Linked DNA regions of Homo sapiens: all the other regions are linked to region 3. Evidence: promoter capture Hi-C in 16 types of primary human blood cells and fetal thymus (Javierre and others, 2016). All regions are on one chromosome and are shown on one strand. The core of a region is centred on a gene start or on the middle of the fragment in contact, and the rest is flanking DNA. Distances in the headings are between cores, read along the strand shown.

Region 1 (3,365 bases), core at 612-3,111, 510 kb before region 3:
TTCATGTGCCTGAAGGCAGCCTCATATTTCTATAATTCGTTGTTGTCATACCTAACATTTTATTCCATTCCACCACACATCTGTATAAGCAATAATATTTGTAAATGTACTGGTCTCCAGGAATGTTTTTGATTTGAGTCCTATATTACTGAAAAGAATCTTAATTATTTGGCAAGCTGACATCCTCGTAAGATTCTATCTGCCCAGCAAGACAGATGAGAGAAATCGTGTGAGAGAGGACACTAAAGCAATGAAGCTCTTTTTATAAAACAATCACTTGTATAACCCGTATTTCCTGATATGAAAACTTCTGGTGAGGCACTGAAGTGAGGGGTTTGGTGAAAACTATCTAGAATCTATGGAATAGCAAAAGTTAATCTCAAAACATCAATATCTGTATCTATCCATATGCCTGCCTATCTATGTATATTTGTAAAAAGACAAAAAGAACAAATGGTTTGGGATAGGTTATTTGTACCTGTCTATAATTTTAACTTAGTCTGATTTTTTATTCTAAAGAATTGCACCAATTTTTGAAAAGAGTCTGTTTAAATAGACAGACTGAGAAACATCTCTGTCATGGAGCTCTTGGTGAGTATGTTCGCTAAGTAGAAACATTTTGATTATCCTAGAGAAAAAATTCTGAATAAATATAAATTTGACAAATATTTTCCTAAGAGGATAATAGCTGGAGATACTACATTACTTATTATGTTTTCAGACAGGTTCTGCTGGTCACAGAAGAACTAAAGGGTGCTAAGTCCATTTTGATTTCCATCATACAGTGGCATACAATATGATAAGGTCTACTACTCTTGGGTATGAGAAGACCAAGGTGACTAAATTTGCCCTAGTCTTCATTTAGTAAATATTTCTTAGGCATTAATTCCATGTCAGCTATTGCAGTAAATGCTGTTAATGCAAGTTGAGTAAAAATAATAGTAACAGCAAGAATCACTGATTTTTATCACCAGTTCATTATGTGCCAGGCACTATACTAAATGCTTTAAATACATCATCTCCTTTCATCCTCACCATAGCCCTGTGACGAAAGTACTATTATTGTCCTTATTTTATGGGGAATGTAAATCTCAGACAGATCTGAGGTTTTTTGTAAAATTGACCTTGTAATTTTTATAAGGTCATAGAGCTAGGATTTAAGTACAGCTCTGTTTTACTCCATTGCCAAAGTTCTCACCCAATACTACTTTAATTGTACTACTTCACAGTATAGCATGGCTCAATCACTAAAATTCTTTCCCCAAATCCATAAAATTCAATTTGAGATTTTGACCTAAGAAAGATAATGTAGAAGTGGGTTTGAGAAAGGGGATTTAATTCCACGGTAATACAGAAATGGCATTAAGTAATCTTTTCTTAGAATGAGTTTATGGACCATTTCACATAAGCTCTCCAAGTTCAAAAGTCAGGATTATAGTAATTTTGGCTTGACTCAAGTGACTAAAGAAAAACAGAATTGAAAGAAAGGGCTTTCAGAAGCTCAAGTCCAGTGTGTGTGTGTGAGTGTGTGTGTGCATGCAAAATGAAAATAGTATAGAAAAGAGAGCTGGAGTTTTGAATCAATAAATAAATCCATTCTGGTTTTTAGTCACTAAAGCAAAAAAAAAAAAAAAAAAAATTGAGTCTGCATACATTTTTTGGTAAGGGAGAATCCAAAGCTTTCCTGAGTTCTCCAAAAAGATTTTCACCCAAAATTCTCAGCTAAAAGTGGGGAAAAAACATTTTTCAAGAATCCAAAGAGAAGGTAGTGTACAAATGTAACTATTAGTTGAACTCAGAATTCTGGAAATCATCGGAGAACAACTGTAAAGTACAGAATAATTGGCTTCCAAGCCTGTGTATCCCTGACACGTGTCATTTTGGTATTTTATCTGTCAGGCCTCTTCCCCACCATTGATCTTTCCTTCTGTGAATTTAATACTCCTGGCCTCTCTCTGCCTCCCCCTCTCATTTAGTTCCAGATACATAGAAAGACTTAATCTGATCAGTGAATTTGGGAGAGTAACTGTGAATGGAAGCTTCCAGGAAACATGCTACCCTCTGCAGCTTGGGAAGAATCTACACTTGGAGCAGGAAACTCCTGCCCTATTCTAGTGCAAATGAAGCTGAATAGATGCCCTTCAAATTCTAGATACAGCGTCAGGGGCCAACTTATACAGAGACAAAGTCAAATTATCTAGTTTTATTAGTAATTAAGGTCATTTTTGAGGCCTGTATATACTGACCCTTTTCTTTCTGTTCTTCACTTATTCTGAAACTGAATGTGGATGCAGTGTATTATTTATCAGACCTTTTCAAAGAATCCAAAACTATACATAAATACATAACAAGCTGGCAAATGGAATGCAAAAGAAAATGTTTCTCCTTGGCATATTCTGGAAGTAAACAACTAGAAGCAGATAGAGGGGACTTACAAAAGCCCAGAGAGGTGACAAGAAGAAAGTTTCTAGCCCTAAATCTGCAGCCATGGAAACATTTGATAGAAGAGAATTCGAATTAGCATTGAGGCAGTAAGTGGGGACAATTCTGACTAATAGAAGAAAGTCTTCCAGGTATTGTTCAGATATTTTATTTTCTAGCCATCCCATCTTTTATCTTTCATTTTCTTTTCTAACCATGATAACTTAAGCAGGAATTGTACAAGGCATGTGTTTTGCTCACGTCTTATTCCAGAGAGCATAATGGACCAAGGGCTCCAGCTTGGAAATCTGTACCAGGGTTTGCTTCAAGGCTACTCCTCTCACAGGCTGCTCCAGCCAGTGACTGACTGTAGCACTGATACTAAGGCAGATCCCATTCCAGAGAAACACTGGACTTTTTTTTGACCAACTTTGTATTGAGGATTTCCTGGTGGCTTTGCCAAAACTGTGTGGCACTCCACCCAACATTCACTCACACTCTCTCTGTCTGTCTGTCTCTCTCTCTCTCTCTGTCTCTCTCTCTTTCATTCTGGGTTAGACGTGCATAGTGGTCAGGTGGTTCTCCTATTTCCTTCACACAGGCATGTTCCCCTAATAGAGTTTATATGTTTAATCTCATCCTGGTATCTGCTTCTTGGAGGACCCTGAGGGAAAGTTTTACAGATAGCACAAATAGAATTCATTTATACTGGAAAAGAGCCAGAGTGACCAGCATTTATACAACTTTATAAAATAATAAAAGAACAGTTAGCTAAAGGTTTAGAAGATAGTTAATACAGCTCAATAGCCAATGCAAGGTGGTCCTGTACTTTAAAGGAAAGATGTTGTGTAATGTCAGAAAGAAATAATAGCACTTGGATTTGTCAGAACTGTTACTGACTCTGTCTAGTAAGCATGAGTATGGGAGAAGGATTGGCATGGGGT
Region 2 (3,400 bases), core at 686-3,185, 500 kb after region 3:
ATAGGCTGCCTTACAAATAAGATAACTGTCAAAGATGCATTCTCTTTATGTGAAAAGTTACACATGTTCTAAGTTTAACACTCCACAATGAACTGTGAAATTTCCCTAAGCTAATACTTAATATTGGAAAACTTCAACAGAATATTGGAAAACTTCAACATCATCTCTTTTCTCAAGCACCTTCATATTGCTCCCATAGTTCTTATAAATTGTCCAATAACCCAGACAAATTTCCTTGTGGACAAGAATTTTTAAAATTTAAAGTATTATATATTAATACAATGACTTTAGTTAAAAGTAAAAATTTATTGATCCAAAACTGCCAAAAACCTTATGCTAAGCAAAAACTTCATTTAAGCTTAATGCTCTTTTTAACTCCTGCACGAATGCCAGATAATTCACCACTATAACGTTGCTCTTCTTTACGAACTTCACGAACCTGGCCTCTTCTTCTAATTTTGGCTCTTCTGAACTTCTCTCTGTGTTTCACTCTGGGATTGCGATCAATCTTCTTTCTCCTAGGAGTAAGTCCCCTATTTTTAGCAATTTGATAGGTAATAGCTCTCTTTGCATTTTGATCTTCAAGAGCCTGTTCTTCAGTGCTATTTTCTTCTTTCTTTCTCTTTAGCTTTTGCCTGTCTTCTATTTCTTTATAGTACTTCAGTTTTGCTTTTTCATCAAAATCAGAATCATCAGAAAGATCTGTAACAGCACAGGCAGCAGCAGAAGTCTTTGAAACAGACTTTGGTTTGGGCTTGGTGGATTTTGCTTTTGGAATCAGTTCTTTCTTTACAGCATCATCCTTAAGTGTCAACAGATGACGAATTTCTGAGGACAGCTTCTGATCCACAACGGACAGCTTGTTGATCAAATTTCGGTAGGTAACAAGCCTTTCTATGACAGGATGTCCATGTGCTGGGACTCTCCTAGCTTTCAGGATCAAATAAAAACTGATGTTCGAGCAATAATTCAAGTAGAGGTTGTACTTGGTCCTCAAGTATTGGCTTCCTTTTCCGGGTGGAATGATCCCTTGTTCCACCAACTCTAACAATGGCTCCAGCTCATCCTTAACCTCTGTCAACTTGACTTTCAGGTCTTCTATCAGCTCCAAGAGTTCTGGTGATTCCTTTCGCAACATTTTCAGCTTCTCTTTCACTGAAACTTTAGCCAAATCCTTCACGACCCGTGTCTCAGCCTCATCTACCTGAGGCACTGGTTTTGCAAAGGCCTCAACCCAGGCGACACCAAAATCATCCTCTTGCAGCGCTTGGGCTAGGCGCCGCTGAATGATCTGTGCCTCCTCCTCCTCCTCTCTTTCCTCCTCCTCTGCCTCCTGTTGACTCTGCCGGCCTCGGGACTTGGAACCATAGTCCGTGTCATAGTAAAGTTTTTTCCTCTGACCCCACGACAAACTGGGATCCACAGAGGCCTCAGCTTCACTTTGCACGGAGCTCCCACCATCATCATCGGCATTCTCCTCCTCCTCCTCCTCCCCCGCATTCCCTCCATCTTCGTCGTCCTCATCGTCCATATCTAGGGCTAGCACCTCCTCCTCCTCCTCCTCGCCATCCTCCTCGTCTCCACTCTGTACTTCATTCCAGCCCTTAGCTAAGGCGGCCCGGGATCGTGCCTCATGAAAGTCATCTACCTGATCTTGGTAGTAGCTGGTGTCCCCTGGTGAGGGTGGCAATCCTAAATCATCTCCATTTTCGTCGGTGAGCGTGGGACCTGCCTTGGCTCGCACAGCTGCCCACTTAGCTGCTCCGCGCCGCCGGGATCTCCCCACCATGGCTCACAATCTCAGGTTTTACAGCGACTCCGGACTTTCGGCCACCACTGACTTCGGCGCAGGAATCAGGCGCTCCGGTAACTCGTGGCTCTAAACAGCAGCGCGCTCCCCTACCACCGGAGTTTGCAGACTCCTGATCGGCTACTGGAATTTCCTCTTCCTTCCGGCCCCCAGCATGCTCTCCGCGTGGCGTACGATTGAGGACTTCCGCTCGGTCCCTTAGTCGAGATCACGTTGATACCAACTTCCTTTTCACTGTGCCCTTTAACGCCAGTCGATTCCGGTGAATTAAAATCTTTCCGTGTGGAAACGATAGGATAAGGAAGTTCCGTTCCACAGAACGCTTTCTCGGGCTAATGCGCTTACTCTCGAGTGCCTGGGAGTGGCTGGGGGACGGAATCCTGACGGCACCTCCAGGCGAGGTCCCGATGGCCAATAGAGGGCGCTGCGCTTTACGCCCCGGAGAAGTCCCGGGGGCGTTCCATTGAGGTTTAACTGCGTGTGTACCCGGCGCTTGCGACCGGCAGTCTAGTGCTAGCGTAGTTTTCCTGCTCCCTTGTTTTCTCTTTTCTGCTTATCAGGCTGGAAGTTAATCAGATTGCTTTCCTCTCATTTCACCCCCACCCCCAATACCATATTTCTGGGTACCACAGCCTCAGGCAGCGCCGCTGGACTCCAGAATCCCACGGGAGGTTTCCGGGCGAGAGCGCAGGCCGGGCCTCCGGCTCGGGTTTACTCATCCCCATCGCCCTCTCCCTGCTCACAGGGCTCGGTGACCCGCTCCATGGGGATCGATAAAGCTAGATGACCCCGAGGCTGACAGTGGGAAGGCAGAGCCCCGCTGCAGGGTCTGACTCTTCTCAAGGAAGTCTGCCCTGTAATGTTAGAGTAATTCAGGGTGTAAGTTTTTAGGCATTACATATGTAAGGTTCAGGGTTAGTATTATTATACCTTTTAATGTAGGTAGTTGGAAGCTGAACTTTTGATACGTTGCTAAAATTAATGGTGACATGGCTGGGCGCGGTGGCTCATGCCCATAATCCTAAGCACTTTGGGAGGCCGAAGTGGGTGGATCACTTGAGGTCAGGAGTGCAAAACCAGCCTGGCCAACATGGGGAAACCCAGTCTCTACTACAAATACAAAAAATTAGCGGGGCGTGGTGGCGGGTACCTGTAATCCCAGCTACTCGGGAGGTTGAGGCAGGAGAATCACTTGAACCCGGGAGGCGGAGGTGGCAGTAAGCCGATATCGCACCACTGCACTCTAGCCTGGGCGACAGACAGAGACTCTGTCTCAAAATAAATAAATAAATAAATAAAATAAAATTAATGGTGACAATTTCTTTTTCTTTTGTTTTTTGTTTCTTTTTTCTTTTTCTTTTTTTCTTTTTTTTTTTTTGAGACGGAGGCTCGCTCTGTTGCCAGGCTGGAGTGCAGTGGCAATCTCGGCCCACTGCAACCTCCGACCCCCTGGTTCAAGTGATTCTCCTCCCTCAGCCTCCCGAGTAGCTGGCATTACAGGCACGCGCCACCACTCCCAGCTAATTTTTGTATTTTTAGTAGAGACGGGGTTTCATCATGTTGGCCAGGATGGTCTCCATCTCCTGACCT
Region 3 (3,084 bases), core at 469-2,968:
ACAAATCATTCAATTTCAAGATCTACCACAAAGACCAGAATCCTATCAGTACTTTTAACTTTAAAATGAAAGTAAAAGTTTTTTCTCAGCTATAAAAGTTATAGAAAAATAAACAGGCACACTTCCTTTGAATGAAGTTATACTAATATCTTCAGTCTAAGTACTAAAATGACCATGTAAATTATTTACATGCTAATATGAAAGACACAAGAAAGAGAGCTGTAGTCAGAAACGTTTTCAAAAGACATCACATTGGCTATAAAAAGCTACTGAATATTGTTCTAATGGCATTGACGAATCTACTGAAATCACAATGAAAAAAAAAAGCCCAAATGAGCAATGTACACTTTAATTAATTTAATTCAGGTAGTATTACAACTCCAAGTCCCAAGATACAAGAAAAAAGAGAAATACAGTACAACACAGTGTCTCTTAGGAAAGGAACTGCTGCAGGATTTGAGACAATGAGCGTTTAGTACAGCCCAGTGTTCTTGATTTCTCATTAGGAGCAACTTTCCAGGGCACTGAAGCGAACCAGGAAAAGAAATGGGGAGGGTAAGCCAAAGGGGTCGCTGCTCTTCAGTGTCAAGTTGGAAAGAGCTTGCTGCGATCAATTATGCTGAGAAGGTAGGGCCTTGAGAGGGAAGGAAGGATAGAAAAAAACAGTTTTACAGGGCGCTGAAAAAAGTGATAGAAGAGAGGTAGAACTGCTTCCTCCATCTTTCACGTCAAGTTCAAGTTTTTCTTTTTGTTCTATAAGAACTTTTGTCTTTATGGTGCTTGCTGCGGTTTGCTGATGTAGTTCCCAGGTCCTGCCTTCCTCTGGTGACTTATTAACGGACTGGCAACGGCTGAGTAAAATGCACTTAAGAAAAAAGAAATCACCTCTCTTTGCCAAGACTCACATGCTGCCCAGTACCTGAGGGAGAGCTCCGTTGTCGCTGGCCAAGAGAAATTCCAGTTTAACCTATGCCTCCCCTAGCCAAATCCATTGCAAATAAATGTGTGTGTGCCACTTGCAGAGAATCTGCCTGACTCACCCCCCGCCTTTGGCGTGCCAGGGAGAGATGTAAATGCTCCGTCCTGGAGCTGGCAGTGAAGTGGGGGCCGCGGCCTCGGTAGCACCAAGAGTCCCCAAATCTCCCCCTGTGATGGGTTTAGGGATGTGTTCCTCTCAAGCAGGTGCCTGGTCACAGGGCGACCACCCAGGCTCACAGCAACACACGTGTCACTGAGCCCGAGCCCAGCCCGCCGCAGAACTGGCCCCGCAGTCCTCGTAAAGACGCCCAGTTGCGCGCAGGGGACTTAGCAGTGAGGGAGAAGCAGACCACCCAAACTCTTCCTCTAAACCCTAAGAAGGAAAAAAAATACTTTTCCGCGGAAGCAGCCTCCACACACCGCCCGCGCCCAGCTCAGGGGATGCCCGGCCCGCAATTGACCTCTCTCTCCCTCCCAGGAGCGCGCTGAGGCCGCCTGCGCGCCCTACGGAATCGGCCCCCGGGCCCGCGCCCGCCTCCGCCTTGGAGCGAGGGACCCCATCGACCCTCCCGGCAGCTGCCGGGGCCGGGCGCTCACCTCCTGGGGTCTGGCTTCCGTCGCTCCTCCAGTTTGGCGGCGGAGTGTGGGGCTGCAGCGGCCACTGCCACTGCCGCCGCCGCCGCCGCCTTCGCTGCCACCGCGGCCGCCGCCGCCACCGAAGCGCTGCCCGGCGCGCCGCCGGGGTTGGAGGCTGGGGGGCCGCGGAATCCCTGGAGGCGCGAGCCCGGGACGCGGCGGGGCCGAGCCGCGGGAAGTTGTCTGCGCCGGGCGCGGAGCGAGCGGGGCGCCAGTCACCCGCGCCCAAGTAGTCACAACTTTGCCGCCTGGGTGGGTGCGCGCTCCGGAGAGAGGCGAGCGCGGGAGAGCGGGGCAAAGGCGCTGGGGCGGGAGGGTCTTCGGAGCAGGCAGGACTGCAACCTGAACGGCCCGCGAGGAAAGGGGAAAGGTGGCGCGGGGGGATGTCTACACAGCCTGTGTGGTGCGCGGCGAGCGAGTGTGTAAGAGCGCGGGCGTCTACTCTACTTTGCCTCCTGCAGCTCCTGCATATTTATGGGGATCTCTGATGTTCCTGCTAGTAACTAACACTGCAGCAGTGGAGCCCAGCCCAGGCGCCCCTCGGGAGCAAGCCGGGGTGCGGGGGCTCACGGAAGGCGGCCGCGGCGGAGGCTGTGCCGCGAGCGCGAGCCTGCGATCCATATTTAAAGCCGTAAGTGGCCTCGGCCGGCCCCCTGCCCTGCCCTCGCTCGTGCCCGCCAGCCCGGCCCCCACCGCTCCGGGCCGCTGCTCGGCGTCAGCCGCCCGGGCATCGGCGGCGGGGAGGGGCCTCGAGCCGCGCCGCCTCCGCCGGGGGCTTGGGCTCTGTGCGCAGCGCCCGCCCGGAGCTGGCGGAGGACCCGGCTCCGGACCGGCCGCTCTTGCCTCCCAGGTTCCTTTTCTCTCACGCCCTGGGCTGGGTCCTAGGTCCAGCTTTTTGTCCTACTCAAAAGAGTTCCCCAGTGGGGAGAGCCTGTGCTTTCATGCAGAACTAAAATTGCGTGAGTTTCCCAGCTCAGATCACTCTTGACTCTACTTTATAAAACTTGGGGCGTATAGAGTGCTGCCATAACACAGTATTAAGTAATTGTTCACCTTTAACAAAAGATGTCTGAAGATAACGTGGTTGTCAACTGTGTCCTTCACTTATGTCACTGATGCCTTTCTGTCTTCCTTGGGAGTTAGGAAAACAGCCTTAGCAAAGTGATTATTTGTATTTATTCTGTTCCTAAGTCTAATAATGAGGTTCAAGTACTCTTTGCCAAGCAAATAATATATCAGTGATCCAGCACCATTGCCATTGGTAAACTATTGAATCATAAGTAAACCATTAAGATATGAACAGACTGTCAGCACAGACACACCATCTATTGTTCTGGGTACTGCTAGAGAGTAGTCACTTAATGGATTGCAACCACATGGTATATCATGCAAGTGTATATCATTTTCTAGTAATACATATTATATGTAATGTGTATGTGGACATCACTGACCAAACTGTGTTTTCAACAG
Region 4 (3,477 bases), core at 37-2,536, 350 kb after region 3:
GACTACAGGCCCACGCCATCACACCCAGCTTTATTTATTTTTTGTATAGACGGGGTCTCCCTATGTTGCCCAGGCTGGTCTGGAACTCTTGGGCTCCAGTGATCCTCTCACTTCAGCCTCCCAAAGCGCTGGGATTATAGGCATGAGCCACCACGCCAGGCCTATATTTCATTTTAAAACAACGAAGTTCTCCTTCCTCACATACCTCAAATTCGGGGGGTACCAAATCTCTGATATTATCCCAACGATTTTTTTATAACCAAGGTATCACAATTCCTTTCAGAAAGGGTTCTTTAGCCACTCACACCACGGGTTTCGGTGGCACAGCGCAGGGCAGCACAGACTTGTGCTACAGCTCTCGGCCCTACCCAGAGCAGGATGGCCCTAACCTAATTTTTTTGTTTGTTTGTTTGGAGATGGCGTCTCACTCTGTCGCCCAGGCTGCAGTGCGGTGGCACGATCTTGGCTCACTGCAACCTCCGCCTCCTGGGTTCAAGCGATTCTCCTGCCTCAGCCTCCTGAGTAGCTGGGATTACGGGCACCCGTCACCACACCCGGCTAATTTTTGTGTTTTTAGTAGAGACACAGTTTCACCATGTTGGCCAGGCTGGTCTTGAACTGCTGACCTCAGGTGATCCGCCCTACCTCGGCCTACTAAAGTGCTGGGATTACAGGCGGGAGCCACCGCGTCCGACCTAATTTTTTGTATTTTAGTAGAGACGGGATTTCACCGTGTTGCCTAGGTTGGTCTCGAACTCCTGACCTCAGGCAGTCCACCCGCCTCTGCCTGCCAAAGTGCTAGGATTACAAGAATGAGTCACTACGAATGAGTCACTGCGCCAGGCCCCTAGCCTCACTTACTTTGGGCCTCAGTTTCCACCGCCTGAAAAAAGAGCAGTTCGATTGCACCCACTTCCCCGGGCCCCGCCCAAACCATGGGCAGCCCCGCCCAAACCATGGGCAGCCCCGCCCAAACCATGGGCAGCCCCGCCCAAACCATGGGCAGCCCCGCCCAAACCATGGGCAGCCCCGCCCAAACCATGGGCAGCCCCGCCCAAACCATGGGCAGCCCCGCCCAAACCATGGGCAGCCCCGCCCAAACCATGGGCAGCCCCGCCCAAACCATGGGCAGCCCCGCCCAAACCATGGGCAGCCCCGCCCAAGGGCGGAGACTGGGCGGAGCGTCGCGCTCTCCTCCACCTCCTTCCGACTCTCGGAGGCCCCCCACCCAGTGCCCGCGGCGCATGTGCCAGGCACACCCCACCCCCAACCGGCCCTGGATTCCACTTCCGTTCCACCATCGCTGCTGGAGCAGCTGCCTTCAGGCCCTGCGCCGCCTCCGGAGTCCATGGCCGGCACGCGCTGGGTACTCGGGGCGCTGCTCCGGGGCTGCGGCTGTAACTGCAGCAGCTGCCGGCGCACCGGCGCCGCCTGCCTGCCCTTCTACTCCGCCGCTGGCTCTATCCCGTCGGGCGTCTCGGGCCGCCGCCGCCTGCTGCTGCTGCTCGGGGCCGCCGCGGCCGCTGCCTCCCAGACGCGTGGCCTCCAGACCGGGCCTGTGCCTCCCGGGAGGCTGGCGGGGCCTCCCGCTGTGGCCACCTCTGCCGCGGCCGCGGCCGCCGCGTCCTACTCTGCCCTCCGTGCCTCTCTGCTGCCGCAGTCGCTGGCGGCGGCGGCCGCCGTCCCGACGCGCAGCTACAGCCAGGTACGTGGGCGCCGTGAGGGACCTGGCGCGAGATCCCTCCCGGGCCGCGTGCACGCGCCCCCGCGCCCCTCCGTCCCTCCGTGTGCGCCTCGCGGGCACGCCCGGGGATCCGCGACACTCGCCGCACACCCGCCCCCGTCCACCCTGTGCTCCTATTGGGCCCTGGAACAAGGGAAGCTCTCCCAGGCGTCGGGTCTTCTGCTTGTTTTGTTCTCGCCTCGAGTCTCTGGTCGGTTGGGCAGTGTAAGTGTGGCTGGGGTGAATGTTGAGGCCTTGTTCCCCGCCTGGCCCATGGTAGGTTTCGTGAGGCTGCTGACGCCCCCACCTCGCATCTTCTTGCTTTCCGCCGGCTGGTTGTGAAGTTGCGAGGCCCGAGCCCGCCGGAGGGTTGGGAGTTTCCGTGCAGCCCGAGCGCTAGGCCTGGGCGGCCCTCGGCGCCTCTCGGTCGGCCGCTGCTGGGAAGGTGCGCGCACACAGTTGCGTGGGCTGGCTTGTAGGGAAGGAGCCTGTCCCCATCGCGCCGTTCCCTCTCCTGTCCCCAGGGAAAGACGAGCTGTCCCGGTTTACTGAAGGTCACCTCTGCAACTCCACTCATACAGAAGGTCTTTAAGGACTGTGTGTCGCCTCGTCTGGGAAAGCAGTTTGGAGATTTAGCTGTTGGGGGGAGGGGGTGAATGGGAGGGAGCGTTGAGGGTTGAGGACACAACTTGGGGTCCCAGGAATGAATTTGCAATGTTTTCCTTTCCATTTTTTCTTTATTTTTTTAGAAAAGTCGGTGTGTAGTTAGATTGCAAATATTTTGTGCTTTGTAGATGAACCTTTCTCTTCTTGGTACGTGGCATCTGGGAAGTGTCTGCACACTTTTTAACTACCCAGCCCCTGATTCCTTAGGTCATATTTATCTTAATTCAATTTGTGCTTCTCCTTTAACTTAGGGAGACTGGGAGGCTAATCAGCATGGCTGCTGTCTGCCAGTGGCTGAGCTAATTGATTTGAATCCTGGCCCAATACTTTACGCTGCCTTTTTCTGTAAAAGCTTGTGATGCTTATGGAATTATGGAAAAATGGGGAAAGTTGTCTACAAAAACCACAACAAAACCATCTCCAGTAAACCTTTGTGAGCTAGCTTCTCTCTTTTTTTTTCTATGAAATTGACTGCGGTGATATCTGTAGAGCATCTACTATGTGTTAGACACTGCTTACATTTATTCCTTAAAACTAAACATTAAGCCTTTTTTTTTTTTTTTTTTTGGAGACCGAGTCTCGCTCTGTCGCCCAGGCTGGAGTGCAGTGGAATGATCTCGGCTCACTGCAAGCTCCGCCTTCCGGGTTCACGCCATTCTCCTGCTTCAGCCTCCCGAGTAGCTGGGACTACAGGCGCCCGCCACTGCGCCCAGCTAATTTTTTGTATTTTTAGTAGAGACGGGGTTTCACCGTGGTCTCGATCTCCTGACCTCGTGATCCGCCCGCCTCTGCCTCCCAAAGTGCTGGGATTACAGGCGTGAGCCACCGCGCCCGGCCTAACATTAAGCCTTAATGAAAATTATAGATAGGGCTGGGCGCGGCACTTTGGGAGGCTGCGGCGGGTGGATCACCTGAGGTCAGGAGTTCGATAGCAGGCTAACCAACATGGTGAAACTCCGTGTCTACTAAAAAAATGCAAAAAAATTAGCCGGGCGGGGTGGCGGGCGCCTGTAATCCCAGCTACCCGGGAGGCTGAGGCAGGAGAATCCTTTGAACCCGGGGAGGTTGCAGTGAGCCGAGATTGTGCC

What was found. The method cuts DNA at HindIII sites, captures the fragments that hold promoters and counts their contacts. A CHiCAGO score of 5 or more calls a contact.
Region 1: a fragment that was not itself captured here is called in contact with the fragment with the promoter of SLC4A4 in region 3 in 1 of 17 cell types (M2 macrophages); the score reaches 5.6 in M2 macrophages.
Region 2: the fragment with the promoter of UTP3 here is called in contact with the fragment with the promoter of SLC4A4 in region 3 in 2 of 17 cell types (fetal thymus and erythroblasts); the score reaches 8.0 in fetal thymus.
Region 4: a contact is called between the fragment with the promoter of GRSF1 here and the fragment with the promoter of SLC4A4 in region 3, in 2 of 17 cell types (fetal thymus and total B cells). The highest score is 9.1, in fetal thymus.

Annotation. Positions count from the first base shown.
Region 1 is chr4:71,691,895-71,695,259 of GRCh38, reverse strand. No RefSeq gene overlaps it. Among named protein-coding and RNA genes, the nearest start is that of GC, 91 kb to the left of the region's middle. The HindIII fragment of the contact is 360 bases long and covers 1,682-2,041 here.
Region 2 is chr4:70,687,067-70,690,466 of GRCh38, reverse strand. It overlaps UTP3 (UTP3 small subunit processome component), which reads right to left and starts at 1,935. Exons shown (of 1, transcript NM_020368.3): 1 at 1-1,935. The coding sequence starts at 1,789. The coding sequence ends at 350. RefSeq lists enhancers at 1,810-1,869, 1,071-2,039, 2,570-2,659, 2,040-3,010. The HindIII fragment of the contact is 6,672 bases long and covers 361-3,400 here.
Region 3 is chr4:71,185,893-71,188,976 of GRCh38, reverse strand. SLC4A4 (solute carrier family 4 member 4) reads right to left here and starts at 1,718. Exons shown (of 26, transcript NM_001098484.3): 1 at 1,576-1,718. LOC124900712 (a long non-coding RNA gene) reads left to right here and starts at 2,453. Exons shown (of 2, transcript XR_007058133.1): 1 at 2,453-3,084. The HindIII fragment of the contact is 10,115 bases long and covers 1-3,084 here.
Region 4 is chr4:70,837,699-70,841,175 of GRCh38, reverse strand. GRSF1 (G-rich RNA sequence binding factor 1) reads left to right here and starts at 1,286. Exons shown (of 10, transcript NM_002092.4): 1 at 1,286-1,705. The coding sequence starts at 1,349. It overlaps LOC124900710 (a long non-coding RNA gene), which reads right to left and starts at 2,184. Exons shown (of 3, transcript XR_007058131.1): 1 at 2,031-2,184. RefSeq lists silencers at 1,019-1,268, 1,329-1,878 and enhancers at 1,275-1,928, 1,929-2,583. The HindIII fragment of the contact is 9,073 bases long and covers 1-2,743 here.